Regions from separate parts of the Homo sapiens genome. Here region 1 is linked to region 2. The links are contacts of gene promoters, found by promoter capture Hi-C in human tissues and cell types (Jung and others, 2019). All regions are on one chromosome and are shown on one strand. Each heading gives the region's core, a stretch centred on a gene start or on the middle of the fragment in contact. The rest is flanking DNA. Distances are from core to core; before and after follow the strand shown. Region 1 overlaps NCOR2 (nuclear receptor corepressor 2). Region 2 holds the start of NCOR2 (nuclear receptor corepressor 2).

Evidence for each region. The method cuts DNA at HindIII sites, captures the fragments that hold promoters and counts their contacts. A contact is called where the count stands out against the background at its distance.
Region 1: a contact is called between a fragment that was not itself captured here and the fragment with the promoter of NCOR2 in region 2, in 3 of the 25 tissues and cell types used here (IMR-90 fibroblasts, aorta and dorsolateral prefrontal cortex).

Annotation. Positions count from the first base shown.
Region 1 is chr12:124,498,918-124,503,734 of GRCh38, forward strand. All of the region lies in intron 2 of NCOR2 (nuclear receptor corepressor 2), which reads right to left. Among named protein-coding and RNA genes, the nearest start is that of NCOR2, 66 kb to the right of the region's middle. The HindIII fragment of the contact is 6,725 bases long and covers 1-4,817 here.
Region 2 is chr12:124,565,129-124,569,690 of GRCh38, forward strand. It overlaps NCOR2 (nuclear receptor corepressor 2), which reads right to left and starts at 2,484. Exons shown (of 49, transcript NM_006312.6): 1 at 2,180-2,484. RefSeq lists silencers at 1,230-1,329, 1,530-1,749, 1,890-1,999, 2,020-2,379, 2,490-2,739 and enhancers at 2,860-2,909, 3,076-3,936, 3,937-4,562. The HindIII fragment of the contact is 12,918 bases long and covers 1-4,562 here.

The DNA.
Region 1 (4,817 bases), core at 1,522-4,021, 66 kb before region 2:
GAAATGTCCAGAACAGGCACATCCACGAGGCAGAAAGGAGACTGGTGGCTACCAGGAGGGCAGGGTGAGGCAGGAATGAGGCCTGCTAATGGTTACAGGGTTTTACAGGGCAGTGATGCAAAGGTTTTGAAACTTGATAGAGGAGGCGGGTGTGCAGCACTGCGAATAGGGAAAAAAATAAGCTTTGACTTTTCATCAGCAGGTTTGGAAGTGAATGCCAAAAAAAATGATGACATCATTTCCTCAAAGATGGGGGCAGGAGAGGACGAGGGAGCCCCTCCAGGGTCTCCAGGATCTGGTCCTGGCCAAAGGAGGTTCTGAGGATGGATCCGGGCTGGAGGGGGAATTCAGACACAAACGCCCCATGTCGCCGCTGCGTCTGGCTGCGGTGGGGTCAGAAAGGGTGGGCGGCATTCATTTATTTACATACACACTGTGGTCCCTGCTGAGCCCCGGGCTAGTGCTGGGGACTTCTTGTGAACCCAGCGGGGTCCAGGCCCTGGAGGGTCTCAGGCCAGGGGCTCTGCCCAGCCCTGGGGAGAGCCAGGAGATACGAGGAAGAAGAACTTCCAGAGGGTGAAGGCGAGGGGATGGAGAGTGCTCCAGCTGGAGGCGCCGCTGAGCAAGAGCAGGGAGGTGAGCGCCAGCTGGTGGGGGGTGAGCGCAGGCTTGGGGGTGAGCCCCCGCCAGGCGGTGAGCACAGGCCCAGGGGTGAGCGAGGGCCTGGGGGTGAGCACAGGTGCCGTTTATGTTTGAGAAATTCATTGAGTGAATATGGGGGGAAGTGGGGACAGAGTCATTCAGGGCCCCATGGGCCCGGGTAAGGATGGATTTTGTTCTCAGGGCAGTGGGGAGCCACAGAAGGTGGTTGCGGGGGAGAGTAAAGGGTCAGTGTTTTACGAGCAGGCACTGGGGACAGCAAGAGTGGATCAGGGAGACCTGGGGAGGCTCCTGCAAATGTCCAAGAGAGGGGACACTGGGGGATCAGGGCAACAGCGACAGAGAAGGGGAAATGGGCAGGTGGATGAAAGTCAGGAGGGAGGCTGACTCTGCAGGCCGAGGAAACAGCTCGCTGCAGGAGTCCCGCTGCACAGGCCCGCTGCGAGGACCCTGTGCCTGTGGCATACCGAGAGGTGCCTGGGGAACAGCAGGTGCTCAGCCATGCAGAGTCAGGAGGGTCAGGCCTCCGAGGAGAACAAGACGGTGCCTGGGTGAGGTCAAGGGACTTGTAGATCTCAGGTGGCCGGGATACCCAACGGGGACACCAAGGGCCCAAGCAGGCCTCTGCACATCCAAGCCACCAACCACAGCCCCAGGGCCCCTGCTGGCCCCTGAACCAGCTGGAGGAGGGCTGCAGATCCCACGCAGGCAGGTGGAGGGGCTCCCCATGCACGGCTGCAGGGGTCTGTCCCTGGGCCATGCCTGCCAGGAGGTAGCAAACACACAAGTGCCCCCCGCCCCCACTGCACTCTGCCAGGCAGCAGCAGAAGCCAAGTGGGCCACATTCCCTGTTCCCGGCCACTGCGGGCTTTGGTAAGGTTTCCAAATCCACAGCGGAAAGCTCAGGCCGTGAGCTCTGACTGGCTGTCCGCCTTGCCTCCTGCTGGACCCAGAGCCCCTTCTGGTGCCTGGCACACAGTAGGTGCACACTGAATGACTCTGCCCAGCGGAGGTGCATGCCAGCAACGCAGTGATGCCAGAAACCACCACACCTGTGTCCTCTTCCCACCTGGCCGGGCAGAGGCGCCTTTCCGGGAGGCCCTGGAAGCTTCCATGGGGCCTCCCACCCCTGCATTCCTCTCCAGCTCCGGCAGGATGAGGCCACACCGAGACACATTCCATAGATTTTCTGTGTCTTGAGCGGCCTGGTTCAGACCTGGGGAGGGTGGAATTACAGCCTCAGGGTGAGGGGCAGGCGGGGGCTGGTGGAGGTGTGGGAGCTACAGGATGTGCCCGGAGCGCTCAGCCGCGGGCTGTGGGGAGGATGAAAGGCACGCGGGGCTCTGCGCCGCACGTGCCTGAAATGTTCTGGGAACTAATGGGTGCTGACATTGGAAGAACCTGTGGCAGGTGGGGGAGCCTCGGGATTAAAAACCAACCTGCCAGGCAGAGAGCGCCCACGGCACGAGCGCGCGCGCACGCGCGCACACACACACACACACACACACACACACACACACACACACACACTCGACAGAACCCTCTGATACTCTGAGAAGCCCAAGGCACAAAGCCCCCCTGGGGTGGGCGGAACCACGGCGGGAACACAGGCCGTGCCTCCACTGTCCCAGCCTGGCCCTGCGAAGACAGGCAGGCCCCAGGAGCCCTGCAGCTCAGCCACATACGGCCTCCCTCACCGCTCAGTAGGTATTTGTTCCACTCACTGTGGAATAAGCACCTATTGTGTGACAGCCACCGAGAGGCACGGCACCTGGCACACACGAGGCGTATTAGCGCCCTCGGCTGCCCCACCACAGACTGCATGGCTTCAAGCAACAGAAATGGATTGTCTCACTGTTCTGGAGGCCTCGAGTCCATATCCAGCTGTCATCAGGGCCCCACGGCCTCTGGGGGCTCTGGGGGAGGCCCTTCCTACTTCCTCACTCCTCCAGCTCTGGTGGCCCCGGCAACCCCCGGTGTTCCCTGGCTTGTAGATGCATCGTGCCATCCTCTGCCTCTATCTCCACGCAGCCTTTCCACTGCATCTCCTGTCTCTGTGTCTCCCCTTCTTCTAAGGGCACCCGTCATATTGGATTTGGGGCCCTCCCCTATCCGGTTGTGACCTCATCTTAACTAATGTGATCTGCAAAAACCCTTTCCAAACAAGGCCGCACTCCCAGGTTCCACGCAGACGTACCTTAAGGGAGAACACTACCTACTTCAGGAGGTGCTCCAGAAATACTTGTTTTGTTCACTGCTGTATCCCCAGAGCCCAGCACACAGTAGGCATCTAATAAATATTTACTAAACAAAACCACTGCAGCCAGTCTGGCCCGAGGAGAAGCCGGCCCGGGGGGAACTCTGGGACAGCAGTTCTGGGATGTGCGCACAAGACGCTGCGGAGCGCCAGCTCCACGGGTCGAGCTGTTGACACCTTGGGTGTTTACTTTCTGGCGTGCAGTAAAAACTGGGGAACTGGCCAAGTATCTGATGGCCACCTTCAGCAGGACTCCTGGCGCAGAACGGATGCTCAGGAATCCAGCTCTGGAGTGAGTCCTGAGATGCGGAAAGCCGGTGGGACGTGGCAAGGGTGCACCTCGCCCAGCCCAGTCCAGAGGGGCCCCCACAGCCAATGAGGAAGGGGGTGAAGAGAGAGCTCCTGCTGCCCGGCCTGGTGGCTCACTCTGTCTACCACGATTTGTTAAGCACCTACTGTGTGAAAGGTGCTGGGGATACAGCAGTGAATTACTGATCCCAAATCCCCCACCTCGTGAAGCTGCCATTCCAGCAGGTGAGACGGGAGTAAGAGGATGGCAGAAGGTGTTAGCACGATGGAGAAAAACAGAACCAGGAGGCGGCAGGCAGGGAATGGGGGTACATTTTGAAAGTGGGCAGTCAGGGGTGCGTCACCAGAGGTGCCTTTTATGCAAAGGCGCCGGGGAGAGGAGGGAGTCTACACAGCAGGCACAGCAGGTGCAAAGGCCCAGAGGCAGGACCGAGCCTGGTGTGTGAGGACAGCAGGGAGGCCTGGATGGGGAGAGTGGGGTGAGCGAAGGCATGTGAGGTCACTCTTTCTGGCTATAGCCAGAAAGCTGGGGTGTTCACTGCAAGGGAGCTAGGAAGGACACAGCTGGTGCACTTTAAACAAGGCTGACGTGCGGTCTCCTGTGGCAAGTCTGCCTCTGGCGTCTCTGTGTTCAAAGGACACTGTAGCTGCCCCTGTGTCGAGGAGCACTGGGCACAGGTGTCTGAGTGTGGGGCACAGGTAAAAGGGCCCCTGTAACCCTGAATGATGACAGCCACGATTGTCAGGGCCCTAGAGAAACGGGCCTCCACCCATGCACAGCGGCAGGCCTGCAGGAATGAGGCCAGACTCCTTGGCCCTCACTTGGCAGAAAGGTCATTCCACTCCCTAAGGAAGAGCCAGGTACCCAACCCCAGCCTGTCGTTGGCTCTGCCGGAGGGGCTGAGGGTCAAATACTAAGAGCTCAATCCCGGGTGCCACCCACAAGGGTGCGGTCTGCCCTCCAGCTGAGACCAGGCAAGCCAAACCCATCCCAAACTCCGGTTGCTGACCCATTCTCATCAATTAGAGAATTATTTCAGCATCTGTTATGTGCAAACACTGTACAAGCACAGCTACAGCAGTGACCAAGTCAGACAAAAGGCAAAAGGCCCTGCTGACCACGGCCCACACCCAGTGACAGGTCTGGCCCAACTGGCAGACTCCCCACCCAGGTGCTCAGCAGGGGGTGGCTGGATGGAGGGAGAAGATGGAAGAGGGATAGAGATGGGAGGATGGAGGAGAAAGGAGGAAGGGAGGGAGGAAAGGAGGATGGATGGATGAATGCATGCATGGATAGAGAAAGGAGGAAGGATGCATGGACTGATGGATGGATGGATGGATGATGGATTGATGGATGGATGGATGGATGGACAGAGGATGGACAGATGAATGGATGGATGGATGGACGAATGGATGGATGGATAGATGGAAGACGGACGGATGGACGGATGGATGGATGGACGGACGGACGGATGGATGGATGGATGGATGGGCGAATGGATGGATGGATGGATGGATGGACGGGTGAATGGATGGATGGATGGATGGATGGATGGATGGATGGATGGACAGACGAATGGATGGATGGATG
Region 2 (4,562 bases), core at 1,234-3,733:
CATCCCTCACCAGGGCCTGACAGCCACATTACCATTTACATGGATTTATCAATAGTATTGATCCCCAGCAGCGTAAATAGCTCAGTGGGAAGAGGCCAGGGCTGGGGCCTGCTGCGCTCCCGCCCCCATGTCTGGGCACCGGCACCACAGACTCCCCCGGCACCCGCTGGCGGTGGCAGCAGTGAATTTCCAAGCAGGGACACGGCAGGCGGCTCAGGGAAGCCAGACAGAGCCCGGGATGCCCTGGCAGCCGCGCTGCCGACTCGCCAGTCACCGCTGGCTCCACCCCCCCTTCATTGCTCTGCTGGGCCTGACTCAGTCTTTGCATCTGTTCAATGGGCGGGGGCACCTGCCCTTCTCCATCCTCTCCGGACAAGCAGAGGGGAGTGGGAAAAGGCCCCCTCCCTCCCCCAGATCCCCCCACTGTCCACCCCCAGCCAAAGGTAAGGTGGCCCCTTTTCACAGGGCTTCCAGACCACGTTGGATTAAAGGCCCAATCTTAGAACCCAGGAATAATAATACCGACACAGTAGTCATAGTAACACATACAAGTACCAAGGGATTCTTATGGCCGGACGGTCAGCTCTCACAACCACTCTGTGAACTCAGTACCATTTTGACCCTCATTTTGCAGATGGGAAACCTGACAGGCACAGAGAAGTTAAGCATCTGTCCAGGGTCACACTGCCAGGAAAGTGGCAAAGGTCAGAGTCAAACCCCAGGAGCTGAGGTGCAGAGTGGGCCATCCCACCTCACTGCTGCTTGCCATTTCTCGGCCCCTCCTCAGCACCCCCAAAGAGGCCACCCACGAGGTACACAGCCTGCCCCGGGTCGCCCTCCCGGCGCAGTCTGGCCCGGAGAGCCCCTTATATCAAAGCTGCCGCAAGGACCCAGATCTGGCTGAAAAGGGGCAAAGTCAAGGCCACCGGTAACACATCCCAACGCGCCCAGAACTCCCCCACCCCGCCCACAGGGTCCTCCCCTTATCCCCTCCTCCCCTCTTCCCTCCCTCACACATCCTTCCTCCAAATCTGCAAAAAGGGAAAAATAATAATAATCACAATAAAACCAGTTCTCACCAACGGGGGAGAGGAGGAGGGGGAGGAAGGGAGGAGGCTGAGCCGACAGAACAGATCCGCCCCCGCTGCCTGCACCAGACCCTCGGAGAGCCGGAGCGCGCGACAGGCGGCGGGAGGACACTCGCTTCCAAAAAAATAAACCTACAATGTAAAAATAACGCCGGGCGCCCCACGCTAATTGGGCCCGGGCGACAGCAGCTCCCAGGTACAGCCTGTCTCTCCCTCCCGCCCGCCGTGCCCTCCCGCCCTCGGCTTGCTCCTCCTGCAAGTGTCTGGGGCGGGGAGGGCGTACCCCACGGGTGCCCTCACTCCCCGCAGGCCTCTGAGGAAGCTGCCCTCTAGACAAGGGTCTGGGTCTTCCCAGTCGTGCCCAAGTGGGATCAGCTCTGAATTCCAACTTCGCAAAGTAGTGGCATCCCAAGTATCCGCACAGCCCGGGGGAGGGACTAGGAGGCGGCCCAATGAGGCGTCACCAGCCACGGGAGGCAGGCCCAGACACCAGGAACACCGGCCCGCGGGGGAGGGGGACCAGGGGCGACTCTCCCGAGGGACCCCGCCCAGCGCCCCGTGGCCCCACGCCTAGGAGGGACAAGGCTGGCTCTCCCCCTCGGCTGGTGAGAGACCCTCATGCGCCCCTCCACAACAGCCAGGCCAGGGAGCTAGGGGTACCATCTCCAAGGGCTTTCAAACCCGCGCTGCCCGATGGAAAATAAGGCGCAGTGTCGCCCCGCCAGGTCCGGGGCTACACCGGGTACAAGGGACGCCTGGCGGCCAAGTCCCCAGAGCCGGCGCACACTGTGGGGGGCCGCTCTGTGCATTTCCAGCGCGCCCCCCGCCCACCCCAACGCCACTTCCCTCCTTCCCGCCCCCTCGCTAGGGAGCTGGAGTTCCCCTAAGTTCCCCGGCGCCCCCGAGCACGCGGGCCGCAGTGTCGGCGGGGCGCCTTGCTCCCCAGCAGGCCACCCCCCGAGAGCGCCAACTCGGGAGTGCAGGGGCCCCGCCAACTCCGCCGCGTGCGCCGCCCGATCCTCCCCGGATCCCCCGGAAGCGCGCTCCGCGCCTCCCCCCGCCCTTCGCGGGGACCCTCGGCCCCAACTCACCTCGCGGAGGTGGCAGCGGTGGCGCCCGGGCTTGGGGCGCGCTCGGGCCGCCGGGGCGCTCAGGCAAGTGGCGGTGCCGATCGGGCTGGGGGCGCGCAGCAGGCCCGGCCTCGGGTCGGGACGCGATCCTCCCGCCGCCGCCTCCTAGGGCGCCGGCCCTGGGTCCCCGGCCCGCAAGTTGGCGCGCATCGCGGAGCGCAGGGCGCGGGCGCAGGGCTCGGGCGGGGCGCCGGCGGACGCGGGGCTCCGGTGCGGCCCGGCCTGCCCGCGGCTCCGCGCTCCCCGGCGGCCGCGGCGGCGGTGGCGGCGGCGGCGGCGGCGGCGGCGGCGGGAGGGGGAGGAGGGGGCGGGGCGCGAGCCCGGGAGGCGGTGGCTCGGCCTCCCTGCTCCCGGCTCCCCGCCCGCAGCGACGCGCCCCGGCCCGGCCCCCTCTGGCTCCTTAAAGGGCCCGCGCCTTCTCTCCAGGCCCTGCGCGTCCCCACTCGCGCGCGCACGCCGCCACACACACAGACACGCACGCACACACTTGGGCGCGACGCCGAGTTTCTTTTTGGCAGCTCCCCGAGGAGGAAGGAGGGGGGAAGCGCCTCCCAGCCTTCCCCTCCCTCTTCTCCTGCGGGCCCGGGGGCCCTCCTCCTCCTCTCCAGCCCCAGTACCTCACTGGAATCGCGTTTCAGCTATTAAATTATAACTCTGGAGTGGCCGCTGGATGGGGAGGGGGCGCGCAGGGAGGGCCCTACACAGGGCCTTTTAGGAGCACGCCCAGTGGGGCACTTGGGGACGGGAGCAGACAGTAGCGCAGAGCCCTCTCCAGGCAGGAACACGCTGGGCCTCCCCAGACCCGAGACCCAGCCCGGGCGAACACACTGCAGACTCACCACCCACCACGGACCGGAGATGTCAGATCTCACACAGACAAATACTGGGACACCCACGCGAGTTCACAGCACCCCGGAGGACACAGACGCTAGAATGCCAGTTTCCTGAGGGCAGAGATTTCTATTTTGTTCACTGCCCTATCGCAGTAGGGACTCACGAATGTGTTGAGTGAAGTCCCACTTGGGGACATTCAGGGACACAAATGCGGAGACAATGCAACGAGCCTGTGTCCCCCCCGCCCCCCCCACACACACACACAGACACACACATCCCAAAGCGTGACCCTGGGAGCCACACACGCCCGGCCTGCACAAGCACGCAGTCACAGACGGCACACATGTGCTCGCTCCCCCACGCACAGGCAGACACTCTCCGCTCCAGCAGGAACCTGGCCCCCCTGGCCGCCCTGACAACCCAGTGTCCTCATTTACCCCCTCCTCCCACCCCCTCCAGGTTTGCCCTCTCCAACCAGGGCAGATCTCTTTGAACAGCAGAGGGCACTGGGAGCCCTGGGCCTGGAGCCTCCCTCCCTCCCTCCTCTTCTGCTTTCTCCTAAGATGTTGGAGAGTTTGAATTTTTTTTTTTTTTTTCAGTTCAACTTTCCTTTTTTGGAGTGACGTCTCAGCAGATTCAGTTCTGCCATCTGGCAACATCTGAGAACCCCCAGGGAGAGCGGGGAATGGCTGCGGTGGGGAGGCAGCCGCGTGGTTTCCAGAGGCCGGCGGGCCTCCCGCCTCCGCCAGGATGCTGGGTTTGCCGGGCTCCCCTGCAGCCAGGTCCTTCTCTGCCCCCTCGGGCTTTTAATTATGAGCTTTTGGGGGGCTGGCGGGAGCCTCTGGGGCTGACAATGTCTGGCAAAAGGGAAGTGGGTGTGGAGGGGAGCAGTTTGCAGACTGAAACAGGAGGGGTCATAGGTCAGTGCCCCCCCCCCACCTCCTTGTTTTGGCCCGACCAGCTCCAGTTCTGCCCAGCCAGTCGGTCCGAATCCACAGGCAAAAAGCTGGAGCCGCAGAAGGAAGGCCTGATCCCCCACCTCCCCCACCAAGGGTCTTGGAGAGGGAAGCGGGGGCGGGGGAGCTCCTCTGCCAGCCCCAGGCCGCCTGGCAGCCCTCCTCTGTCACCTGAAAACCCTCTGGGAATTTGCATTTCCATGAGATTCAGCTCTATTTGAAGCTGGAGGAGGGACATTTGGGGTGTCTTCAGGGGTCTCCCAGCTTCTGCCCTCGAGGGCTCCCTGCAGGCTTAGGAGCGGGGAAAGCAGGGGGTCTGTCAGCTTTGTAATGTCCCAAGCGTCACCTAGAAATCCCTCACTGGAAGCCTTATCAACTCAAGCGCCAATGGCCTCTGGCCCGACCATGTCACAGATGGCAAGACTGAGGCCAGGAGAAGGGCAGCGTTTATCCCGAAAGGGATTGGCCCTTTCCCGTCTGCTCCTGTTTCCTGGCTGAATTGGGTTATTAATCTCACCCTCACAGACGGCGGGGAGTAACACCAGCACTGAGTG